Regions from separate parts of the Homo sapiens genome. Here regions 1 and 2 are each linked to region 3. Evidence: promoter capture Hi-C in human tissues and cell types (Jung and others, 2019). All regions are on one chromosome and are shown on one strand. Each heading gives the region's core, a stretch centred on a gene start or on the middle of the fragment in contact. The rest is flanking DNA. Distances are from core to core; before and after follow the strand shown.

Region 1 (3,280 bases), core at 527-3,026, 34 kb before region 3:
ACAAAAAATTAGAGTCCCCTTTGGGGTAACAGAGCCTGGGTATGCACAATAGAAAAATCTTTGACCTTTAACAACACCTGGAACCATGAATCCTCCCCTTGGAACCAAGAAGACTGGGACATGACCAGGACCTGAACTCTGGAGCTCTTTCAGAAGTGAGGGGTCTATTGGCCCGGAAGATCCAGGGTTAAAATCTGCCTCAACATACTTTACTGTAAATGGTCAAATTTGAAGCCCTTTAATCAGACCCTGCCAACCCACCACTCCTAAATCTTTTCCCTTGCCCTCTGATCCCTTAAAATTTGCTCCAGATCCCAAATTAGGGAGACAGATTTAAGCCTGACTTCTGTCTCCTTGCCAGCCAGGTTTACAATAAAGTCTTTCTTTTCTCAAAAACCAGTGCCATAGTCATTGGCTTTTATGTGCATCGGGCAGCAAGTCCATTTGCTGGTTAGCAAATGAGCCCACATGAAAAGGAGACTGGGTACCCCCTTTGTCCCCACCTTCTCCTACATCACATCTCTGAAACCCATCAGGTCAGATGAGGCTTTCCTGGACTGGGATGTGAGGAGTTATTGGGCCTCCTTGTCTCCTAAGCATTGTGACCCACACAATGTGGAGATGTGGGTAGATCTGTTGGAGAGAAAGCTGTTGCGGGCAAGGAAGGCATTCCTCAAGTTAGATTCAGGCTGGAGACTGGTGTTGTCCACTGAAGCGAAACATTCACATACCTAGGACCCTGCAATTCCACTCCTGGGTATACACCTACAAGAAATGAGTGCTTAAATCTCCCACAAGATTTGTACAAGAATGTCCCTAGCACCTCTGTTCATTAGGGTCCCAAACTGCAGAAAATCAGCCATGTGTCCTTCAAAAGGAGAAAGGATTAAAAATTGAATGAACAAGAAAGAAACCGCTGATATATGTGACATCGTGAATAAATCTCACGGATTTATAAAAATAACATCAAGCAAAGGAAGCCAGGCACAAAAGAAAAGACAGTACAAGATCCCATTCATATGAAGTTCAAGGACAGGCAAATTAATCTCTGGTGACAGGGGTATCAATTAGGAAGAAATGCAAAGAAACCTCTCTGGAGTGATAAGAATGGTCTGTATCTTGACCTTGGCAATGGTTCCATGGCTCTATAAGTTTGTAAAAATTTATTGATTTTGTACTTTACAGTATGTAAGGTATACCATTGTAGGACGTTTTCAAACATCCCCCTCTCTGAAAAAAAAAAAAAAAAAAAAAAAGGATTTAAGATTAAACAACAGTATAAATAAGTGAAGGGCTACAGGTCTAGTGGTAATGCCAACCACTCTGTCATGGGTCCTGGGCTGTAGAGAAGACAGTGACCCACTGGGATGTCAAAGGCAAGCCATCACTGATGCCACTATGTTTCACTCATTTATTCACTACCTTTCCAGGCATTCACTTATTCTTTTAGTATCTTTCCTTAATTTTTTTTATCCATGCTTAGTATATTAGTTTCCTGTGGCTGCAGTAACATATGACCACAAACTTACTAGCTTAAAAAAACATAAGTTCATTCTATTCAGTTCTGAAAATCAGAAGTGTAAAATCAAGATGTCTGCAGGGCTGGTTCCTGCTGGAGGCTTCAGGGAGAATCTGCTTCCTTGCTTTTTCAGCTTCTAGAAGCTGCCTGCATGCCTTGGCTCCTGGCCCCTCCCCTTCCTGCCTGCATTCCATCACTCCAACGTCTTCTATCATCGCATCTCCTGCTACTGACTCGGATCTTCCCTGCCTCCCTCTTATGAAGATCCTTGCGATGACAGTGGGACCACTTGGAGAATCCAGGATAATATCCCATCTCAAGATTCTTAACTCATTTACGTCTGCCAAGTACCTCTTACCATGCTTAAGGTACCATATTTGCAGGTTCCAGGGATTTGAACGTGGACAGGTTTGGTGGGGCAGAGGATGATTATTCAACCCACCACACTTAGAAAGAAGAATGGTATAGACTTTTTCTTTCTTTTTTAATTTTAATTTTTATTTTTTTTGAGACAAAGTCTTGCTCTGTCACCCAGGCTGGAGTGCAGTGGTGCAATCTCTGCTCACTGCAAGCTCCGCCTCCCAGGTTCATGCCATTCTCCAGCCTCAGCCTCCCAAGAAGCTGGGACTACAGGTGCCCGCCACCACGCCCAGCTAATTTTTTGTATTTTTAGTAGAGACGGGATTTCACCATGCTAGCCAGGAGGATGGTATAGACTTTTTACGAGCTCAGACTTGGAATCAGATCAGACCCATCTGGATTCAAATACTACTTATTAGTGGTATCACTTAGCTGATGACCTACCACTTATTAGCTTCATGTCCATAGGAATACGATTCAGCCTCTCTTGAAGCCCCAGTTTTCCTGCCTATACAATGAGGCATCACTCCACTTCCTCCAGGTTTTTGTGAGGAGTAAGTGAAGTGATGTTTAAGGCAGTTAACACAGAGGCTGGCACAAGATGCAGGCTCAACACACAGCCTGTGCATGTAGTGATATCTTATGAATGAATGATATTGATGGAAACAGCCATTTACCAAGTCCAGGGTACTTTGCTAACCAGGTCTGTCAGACTCCAGAATCCATCAGAAACTGTTCTGGAAGGGCCTCCAGGTCTGAGCAGAGGTCATTTGGAGAGAGAAAAGAGAAGGCCTTACTCCCAGCCCCTCCAGAAAATGGAGGAAATGCATTCTCCAGGATGCTCAGAAGAGGGTCTGAGCCCTGTTCCTCTCCCCAGGAGGGAATAAACATCCAAGCTTTTCTGGTGGCTGCCTGTCATTTATCAGAGATGGAATTTCCTTGGCACTTTGGGAAAAATAGATGCCAAGATGCAGAAAGAAATAGATTTTTTTCTTTCCCCCAGAAGTAGAACTTGGCTCATACATGTGTGGGGCACATTGATACAAATGGAATGAGAAAGCTCTGGGAGCCCTGGGGACTGAGGGTGTTGCTTGCATCTGAGTGTGAAATGGGTTGGGGGGCTGGGGATCCCCCAGCCCATTTTCCAAGGCATATGTGTTTGATTATTCCACCCGTGAGTCTGAAGGGGGCTTGGTGACTCCTCCCTATGAACAGGCAGGATTCCAAGAGCTTCCGGAGAGATGTGAGCCTGCAAGGAAGATGCTGAAGAAGCCCAAAGGAGGAAATGAGAACAACGTGGCCAACGTTGTCTTCAGGCTTGGAAGAGAATCTGAGGTCACAGTCCCTCTGCCGTCCTTCCTTTCCACCCTCACCAGTATTCTGTGGCCAAGGGCAGGCCTT
Region 2 (3,311 bases), core at 646-3,145, 42 kb after region 3:
TGACAGATTTGTCTCTTCTCCCCCATTCATTAAGCTATTCAGTCACTTATTTATATCAGTATACACTCAGAGATATATGATTTATACCTTGAGTTATAACTCAATTCTTTATTTATTTATCTTGTTCCAATTTTTCCAGCTTTGGCCATTGGAAGCTCTTTCACTTGGCTTCCGAGCTTCTTTGATATACACTCATTTGTTTTAGCACATCCTTGCAATCTGACACTATAAAAAGCTCCAGGCTCATCTTGTGCTTTTACTGCCCCAGTCATTGAAACAGCTATTTCTCCAAGTACCTCTGGTTCCTTTTATTAGAGAATGGTATTAGTAACCAAGATCTGGGCATTAGGTGTTCTTCTTGCTACAGGGGTGTCTTTGCTTCTAGGCCCTCTCAGCTGACATATTTTCTTATGATCTGTGAATACACTCACTAACCTGTGTAAATACACATATCTATAAATATTTCTGTATGTAACCATCTGTATCCATATTAAGCTAAACATTGAGTTCATACTGATGTCCCCAGCTCTGATTCATCGCCATATGGATCATCTAGCTTCCTGCCCTGGCTTATCTGTAAACTCCCACTCCAACAGTGAGAAACATGACTTTCACCAACTTATATCCATTTACTTAATTCTTCAACTCTAGTATACATGTATAGCAGTGTCAGAATTGTTAACCTGTATTCCTGTGGGAAACAACTTTATCAACTAGAGTACAGTCCTTATGTACAGTTCCTTCTGCCTTTTGTCTTGCAGACTCCATTTATTTCCAAAGTTATGCCAGCACCTCCCGTCACACTCCCTTCAATGTGGTTGCTTCAGGCATTTGTCATACAGTTAGATTCTTTGTCATAGTCTGCTTTCCCTCCTGGGATCCCAGCTCCTTAAATAATTTTTTTAAATTGCATTCATTAAGCTTCACTCTTTGTGCTTGAAAGTTCTATGGGTTTTGATAAATACTTAATGTCTTGCATTCACAATTACAGTATGATACAGAATTTCATTACTTTCTTAAAAATCCATTTGCTCCACCTACTCATCCCTATACCCTCTCTCTAAATCCCTAGCATCAACTGCTCATTTTACTCTCTCTTGAGTTTTGTCTTTCCCAGAATGGGTGATGATGTTTTCAAGTGCTAATATTTATTAAATAGTATCACTGAGATTATGAAGAAATAGGCCTCTGTTATGCTACATGTTGCAGTTTGCTCATTCATAGCCTAAATGTCTTTTTTTAAAAAAGGAAAAGGGGTGCCTATTTTTTATTTCCAATCCAGCAAATTCCACATCTAAAAGTTTATCAAAAGTAAATCATTCTGAATGAGTACAATGATTTGCTATGAGGATGTTTATGGCAGTATTTTTTATTATCATGAAATCATCCATCAATTCAATAAATATTTAGTGTGTGCCTACCATGTGCTATTCACTATTTTAGGCACTGGAGATTATAACCTAACAAGAAAAGACAAAAATTCCTGCCTTCAAAAATCCAATATACCTCATAAAGCTTGTATCCTAGTAATTAAAGACAGACACACATATATGCATACATACATGCATGTATATATGCACACACACACATACATATTCTGATGATGGTAGGAGTAGGAAGAAAATAAGTCAGGGAAGGTCATTAGGCAATGCCTCTGTGGTTGGCAGGGTGATTTACCTCACTGCCCATGGAGTCCTTTGGGGATTAGAGAAACTCCAGGTGTCCTGAGCTACTTGTGGTGGCTAATGTGAAAAGTATAAAGGACAAAATTATTTCCGAGCATCTCCTGGCAGACAGTTGCAGTGAGGCTGTGAGCATTTGATGAGACAGAGAAGGAGGAAGGGGTGAGAGTTTTATGAGGAGCATACAGATCTCCTGAGGCATACTCCTCACCCCTGCCAGTGCTGACTAAAGCAGAGGACAGGGCATTTATCTGGAACATACAGAACTTTGGAGGTTCCTCTTGGCTGCAGAAAAACACCAGCCAGTCATTAAAAACAATGTGTTGATAAATACTTAATATGAAAAAATATTCATAATATATTTTACATGAGTAAAAAGCAACTAAAGACTGTATATACTATACGGGGATAGTTTGGTCACATAAAATATAAATACTTCTGTGTATATGAACATACAGAAAACATGAAATAGAATGTTGTCTTCAAATTGCCTCTTTTCCTTATACTCATGTAACAAACATGCACACGTACCCCCTGAATCTAAAGTAAAATAAAATTTTAAGAAATCAACTTGCAGAAAATTAGCACCTTGATTTTTCAATCTATAAATATGGCACACCACTTCATTTCTTTAATTCTTTATTAAGCTCTTTCCACAATACTATGATTTTTTTTTACTTTAACATTATTGCAAGTCTTTTGTTAAGTTCATTCCTAACTTTTCTGCGCTCATTAACACCAGTGTAAATAGAATTAATTAATTTCTGTTTCTAATAGTTTGTAGCAAGTATATACAATTGATTTTTGTATATTTTGCATATTAACATGGAATTATATATTCAATTTGTTTTTCCTATGATTATTTGTAGATTTTATAAATACTATCCATGGAAATAATCACATCATTTACAAATAGATTTTACTTAACTCATTCCTTTCCATCAGCATGCTATTAATATCTTTTCTTTTTGCCTTCTTGGATGATTATGGTCTCCAGTAAAATGTTAAATAGAAATGGTCCAGCCTGTCCTTGTTTTGCTAGTAAGGGGAGAACATTGAATATTCAATTATTAAGTATGGCATTACCTAAGGTATTTTACTGATGTCCCTTTTCAGATTGAGGAAAGTACATTCTCTTCCTAGTTTTCTGAGAGTTTTTCTAAATATTACAGATGAAAATTGTTTTGTTCAATGCTTTTCTTAAAATTGTATGTTTTTTTCCATTAATCTGATAATATCATGAGTTACAATTTTTATTTTTTATTTCTTTCTTTTTTTTTTTTTTTTTTGAGACAGAGTCTTGCTCTGTCTGTTGCCCAGGCTGAAGTGCAGTGGCGTGATCTCGGCTCACTGCAAGCTCTGCCTCCCAGGTTCACGCCATTCTCCTGCCTCAGCCTCCTGAGTAGCTGGGATTACAGGCACCTGCCACCACGCCCGGCTAATTTTTTTTGTATTTTTAGTAGAGAGGGGGTTTCACCGTGTTAGCCAAGATGGGTCTCGATCTCCTGACCTCGTGATCCGCTTGCCTCGGCCTCCCAAGTGCTGGGTTTACAGGTGTGAGCCACTGTGCCTGGCCTTATTTTTTATTTCTAAAGAAGTTCCCATTAGTCATTGCATTAGGTCGTTCTT
Region 3 (3,249 bases), core at 1-2,500:
TTCCCTCTCTCTCTTTACACACACACACACACACACACACACACACACACACACACACACACCCCAGAATGGACATAAGCAAATCTGCAAGGCACCCTACACAAAGCCCATTGCCTGGGCAGCTCTGGCTGTTGGCATCAGATGACAGGCAGCCTTATTCACCAGAGTATCACCCCCAAGAAACATCTTCTACAGCCAACTTGGAAATATGACTAGCTCCCTCTCCCTTGGAACTCTGCACTGGCCAGAAAGAGGGTGATTCATAAATCAAATTTACGGGGCCCACTGCCTCCCCGCTGGCCCACCTCCGCGGGAGAAGCCCTTGAATGCATGCCTGTAGGGGGCACAGGAATGCCCAGAGGAAGGATGCCTGGATGAGCCGGAATGTCCCACCCTCTGCCAGAGGAGAGAAAGTTTGTCATCTACGCAGAGCTGGGCTGTCACCACTCTGGGTTCCTCACTCGCCGGGCTCTGGACGACGAGCCCCCAACCTGCGGGGAAGCGTCTGGAAAGCGAAGCCCAGATCTAGGGGCAGAAGACATTTCGCACCAGCTCCGCGCCCGGCTCCCTCCTGGAGCCCTCTTCCCAGGTCCAGGCACCTGAGTCCTTACCTGAAGGGTCTCCGCCACTTGCAAACTCTGCCAGCTGAGCTCAGCAGGCGCCCGGGGTCCCTCTCTGCGACTCCCGCGTCCCGCTTGGCGCGCCCGCTCTGTGGGCGCCTTCCCAGCTGCTGCAGTGGCTTTAAGGAAAGGGGAGCCTGGATTTCCTTTCTCGCCACCAAGGCTCCTCCTGCCGGGCCCTGGGGCTATTTCTCCAGGTCTGGCTCAAGGGGCATCCTCTGCGCCTCCAGCGGGAAAGTGGGATAGTGTGCGCCTTGAATTGCAGCAGCGGCGACAGCGGTGGCCGGGGACGAGGAGGCGGTGGCGACGCCAGCCGGCGAGCCAGGGAGGCGGGCGGAAGCGAGAGGAAGTGAAAGCCGGGCTCCTGTGAGCCTGGCGCTCGGGCGGGCGGCACTGCGGGTGCCCCGAGCCGCGGCGAGGCCCCGCGCGGGCACCCGCCCCGGGGATGGAGATGCCCGGGCCCGGTGCGCGCAGGGCACCGGCTGCGGCTCGGCGCGGAGCTCCGGCCGCCTGGCTCTCTCTCGCTGCCTCGCCGCTGCCTCCTTGGCTGCCTTGCTCGCTCCCCTGGACTTCACGTCTCCAGCCCTAGCTCCCGCGCCGCTGCCGCCGCCGCCACCAGCAGCGCGCCTCAGCCCGGCGCGCTCCTCGCACGGAGCCACAGCACTGCCTACCGCTTAACTCCTTGCATGCCACCTGGCCCTCCCGCAGCCTCCCGGGGAGCCGGGCATAGCCGGTGCCAGGCCGGCTGAGCATATCGGGCAGGGGCCTCAGCCTTCCGGCCTCAGTGTCCTCTTCTGTAAAATGGGTTCGAGACCCAAGCCCAAACCATAGGGTCGCTGGAAAAATTCACTGAGCGGATTACGCAAAGTGCCAAGCTGCCTGACATGGGGAGTATGCACCCCAAATGGCAGAGTGCTTGCTGCTGCTGCTACTGTTGTCGACCAAGAAGCTTAGCACGGTGCCTCACAAATAGTAAACACCCAATAAAGCGCAGTTTCGGTTTTTGGTATTTAGTTTGTAGTTTTAACAGGTGGTAAGTTTTAGCTGTGTAACCTCTGGGTGATCACTCGCCCTCTCTGAGCCTGTTGCTTTCCAATCTCTGTGACCTTGGGCAAGTCACAGCACCTCTCTGAACCTTTGTGTCCCCATCTGTAAAATGGGGACAGTAATGCCCGTAGTCAAAGAATTCCCAGAGAAGCTCTGGCAGAAGAGCCCTTCTCATGACGGGGCAGGGCATCTAACGGGAGCTGGACATCTTTTCTTTCTTGATCTGGCTGGTGGCTGCACAGGTGTTTGTGACAAGTCGTTGTACTGTACATTTACATATCAAGTGCTTTTCTGTACATGGGTTAAATCTTAACTGTTTTTTGTTTTTTTGTGTTTCTTTTTTTTTTTTTTTTTTGAGAGACCATTCTTGAGCAAAACAGAACTGGGTTCAAGCATGGGCTCTAGTACTTTCTGGTTGTGTCACCGTGACCAAGTTATTTCATCTTAAGGAGCCTCAGTTTCCTCATCCATAAAATGGGAACAATGATAATACCTACTGGATAGGTGATATAAGGATTAAAGGGTTTCAAGCAAAATGGCAGATATAAAGCTTGAGGCCTGAACTCAACCAGTATCTGCTGGTACTGATCACATATTCTACAGTATTATATATGTCCCATAGTAAGGGGTGTCTGGGAAATAACAAAGAGAACTGAATTTGAATCTCCTCAACAGTTGCCAGGTAAAATACAGGATGCCCAGTTAAATTTTTAGTATAAGTCTGAAATTTTACATGGGATATACTTTCACTATTTTTTTTACATTGTTTACTCAGAACCCAAATATAATTGGATGTCCTTTATTTTATTTTGCTGCATCTTGCAATCCTAACTCCATAATTACCAGCTGTATGTCCTAAAGTAAATGACTTAGCCTCTCTGGCCTTGGTTGCCCAATCGGTAAAATAGGACTAAAGATTTCTTCTAATGTTGACAAGAGAATGAAACTGATTAAAGTGGGTGGGTGTTCCCAGCAGCACATGTTAAGCCCTCCACATTTGTTCCGTACACTTCCTGTCAATCATCTCCCTCCCTCCTCTTCGGTTCTTCCTCTTTATCCCTACCTGTCTTGAGGTTGCCAGGGCTCTGCACAAGCATTGTTTAGCCCTCTTGCTGGCCTTCAAAACTAGCAGATTATAATTAGCCATAAAAAAATAAGCAGTAAAGTTAGGATTTTCATCTAAAACACACACACAATCAATTTTGCTAAGAAGGGATGAAGTCTGTTTTTTCTAGTCCTAACCATTGAGCACACTCTAATTTTTGCTAAGGGCTTGTGCTCCACCCCTATGTATCCCTGACATGATTTGTGTTTCAGGTTTCTGAGAGAAGCCTCATCCTCTCTCATTGCCTTTTATTTCAGCTCAGAATTTTATTGTTTCTGGCTGAAGTCTGTTGCAGGACTCACGGAGGAGGGAGAAGAAACAAAGCGATCTTTGAAATAAATTATAAAGAGCAAAACAGGGTGATGTAAGAGAGTTTCCGAGCAGTAAGATCCGCCGACACCTCCGAACTATGTTCATAAAACGAGTCACTACCCCATACATCACTGTCATTTGAACCACAGTGTCTAAAAATAGGAT

What was found. The method cuts DNA at HindIII sites, captures the fragments that hold promoters and counts their contacts. A contact is called where the count stands out against the background at its distance.
Region 1: a contact is called between a fragment that was not itself captured here and the fragment with the promoter of WSCD2 in region 3, in 3 of the 25 tissues and cell types used here (dorsolateral prefrontal cortex, psoas muscle and spleen).
Region 2: a fragment that was not itself captured here is called in contact with the fragment with the promoter of WSCD2 in region 3 in 2 of the 25 tissues and cell types used here (pancreas and thymus).

Annotation. Positions count from the first base shown.
Region 1 is chr12:108,162,116-108,165,395 of GRCh38, reverse strand. All of the region lies in intron 1 of WSCD2 (WSC domain containing 2), which reads right to left. Among named protein-coding and RNA genes, the nearest start is that of WSCD2, 34 kb to the right of the region's middle. The HindIII fragment of the contact is 8,834 bases long and covers 1-3,280 here.
Region 2 is chr12:108,085,543-108,088,853 of GRCh38, reverse strand. No RefSeq gene overlaps it. Among named protein-coding and RNA genes, the nearest start is that of WSCD2, 42 kb to the left of the region's middle. The HindIII fragment of the contact is 3,832 bases long and covers 1-3,311 here.
Region 3 is chr12:108,127,289-108,130,537 of GRCh38, reverse strand. It overlaps WSCD2 (WSC domain containing 2), which reads right to left and starts at 1,250. Exons shown (of 9, transcript NM_014653.4): 1 at 612-1,250. RefSeq lists a silencer at 940-1,029. The HindIII fragment of the contact is 5,452 bases long and covers 1-1,893 here.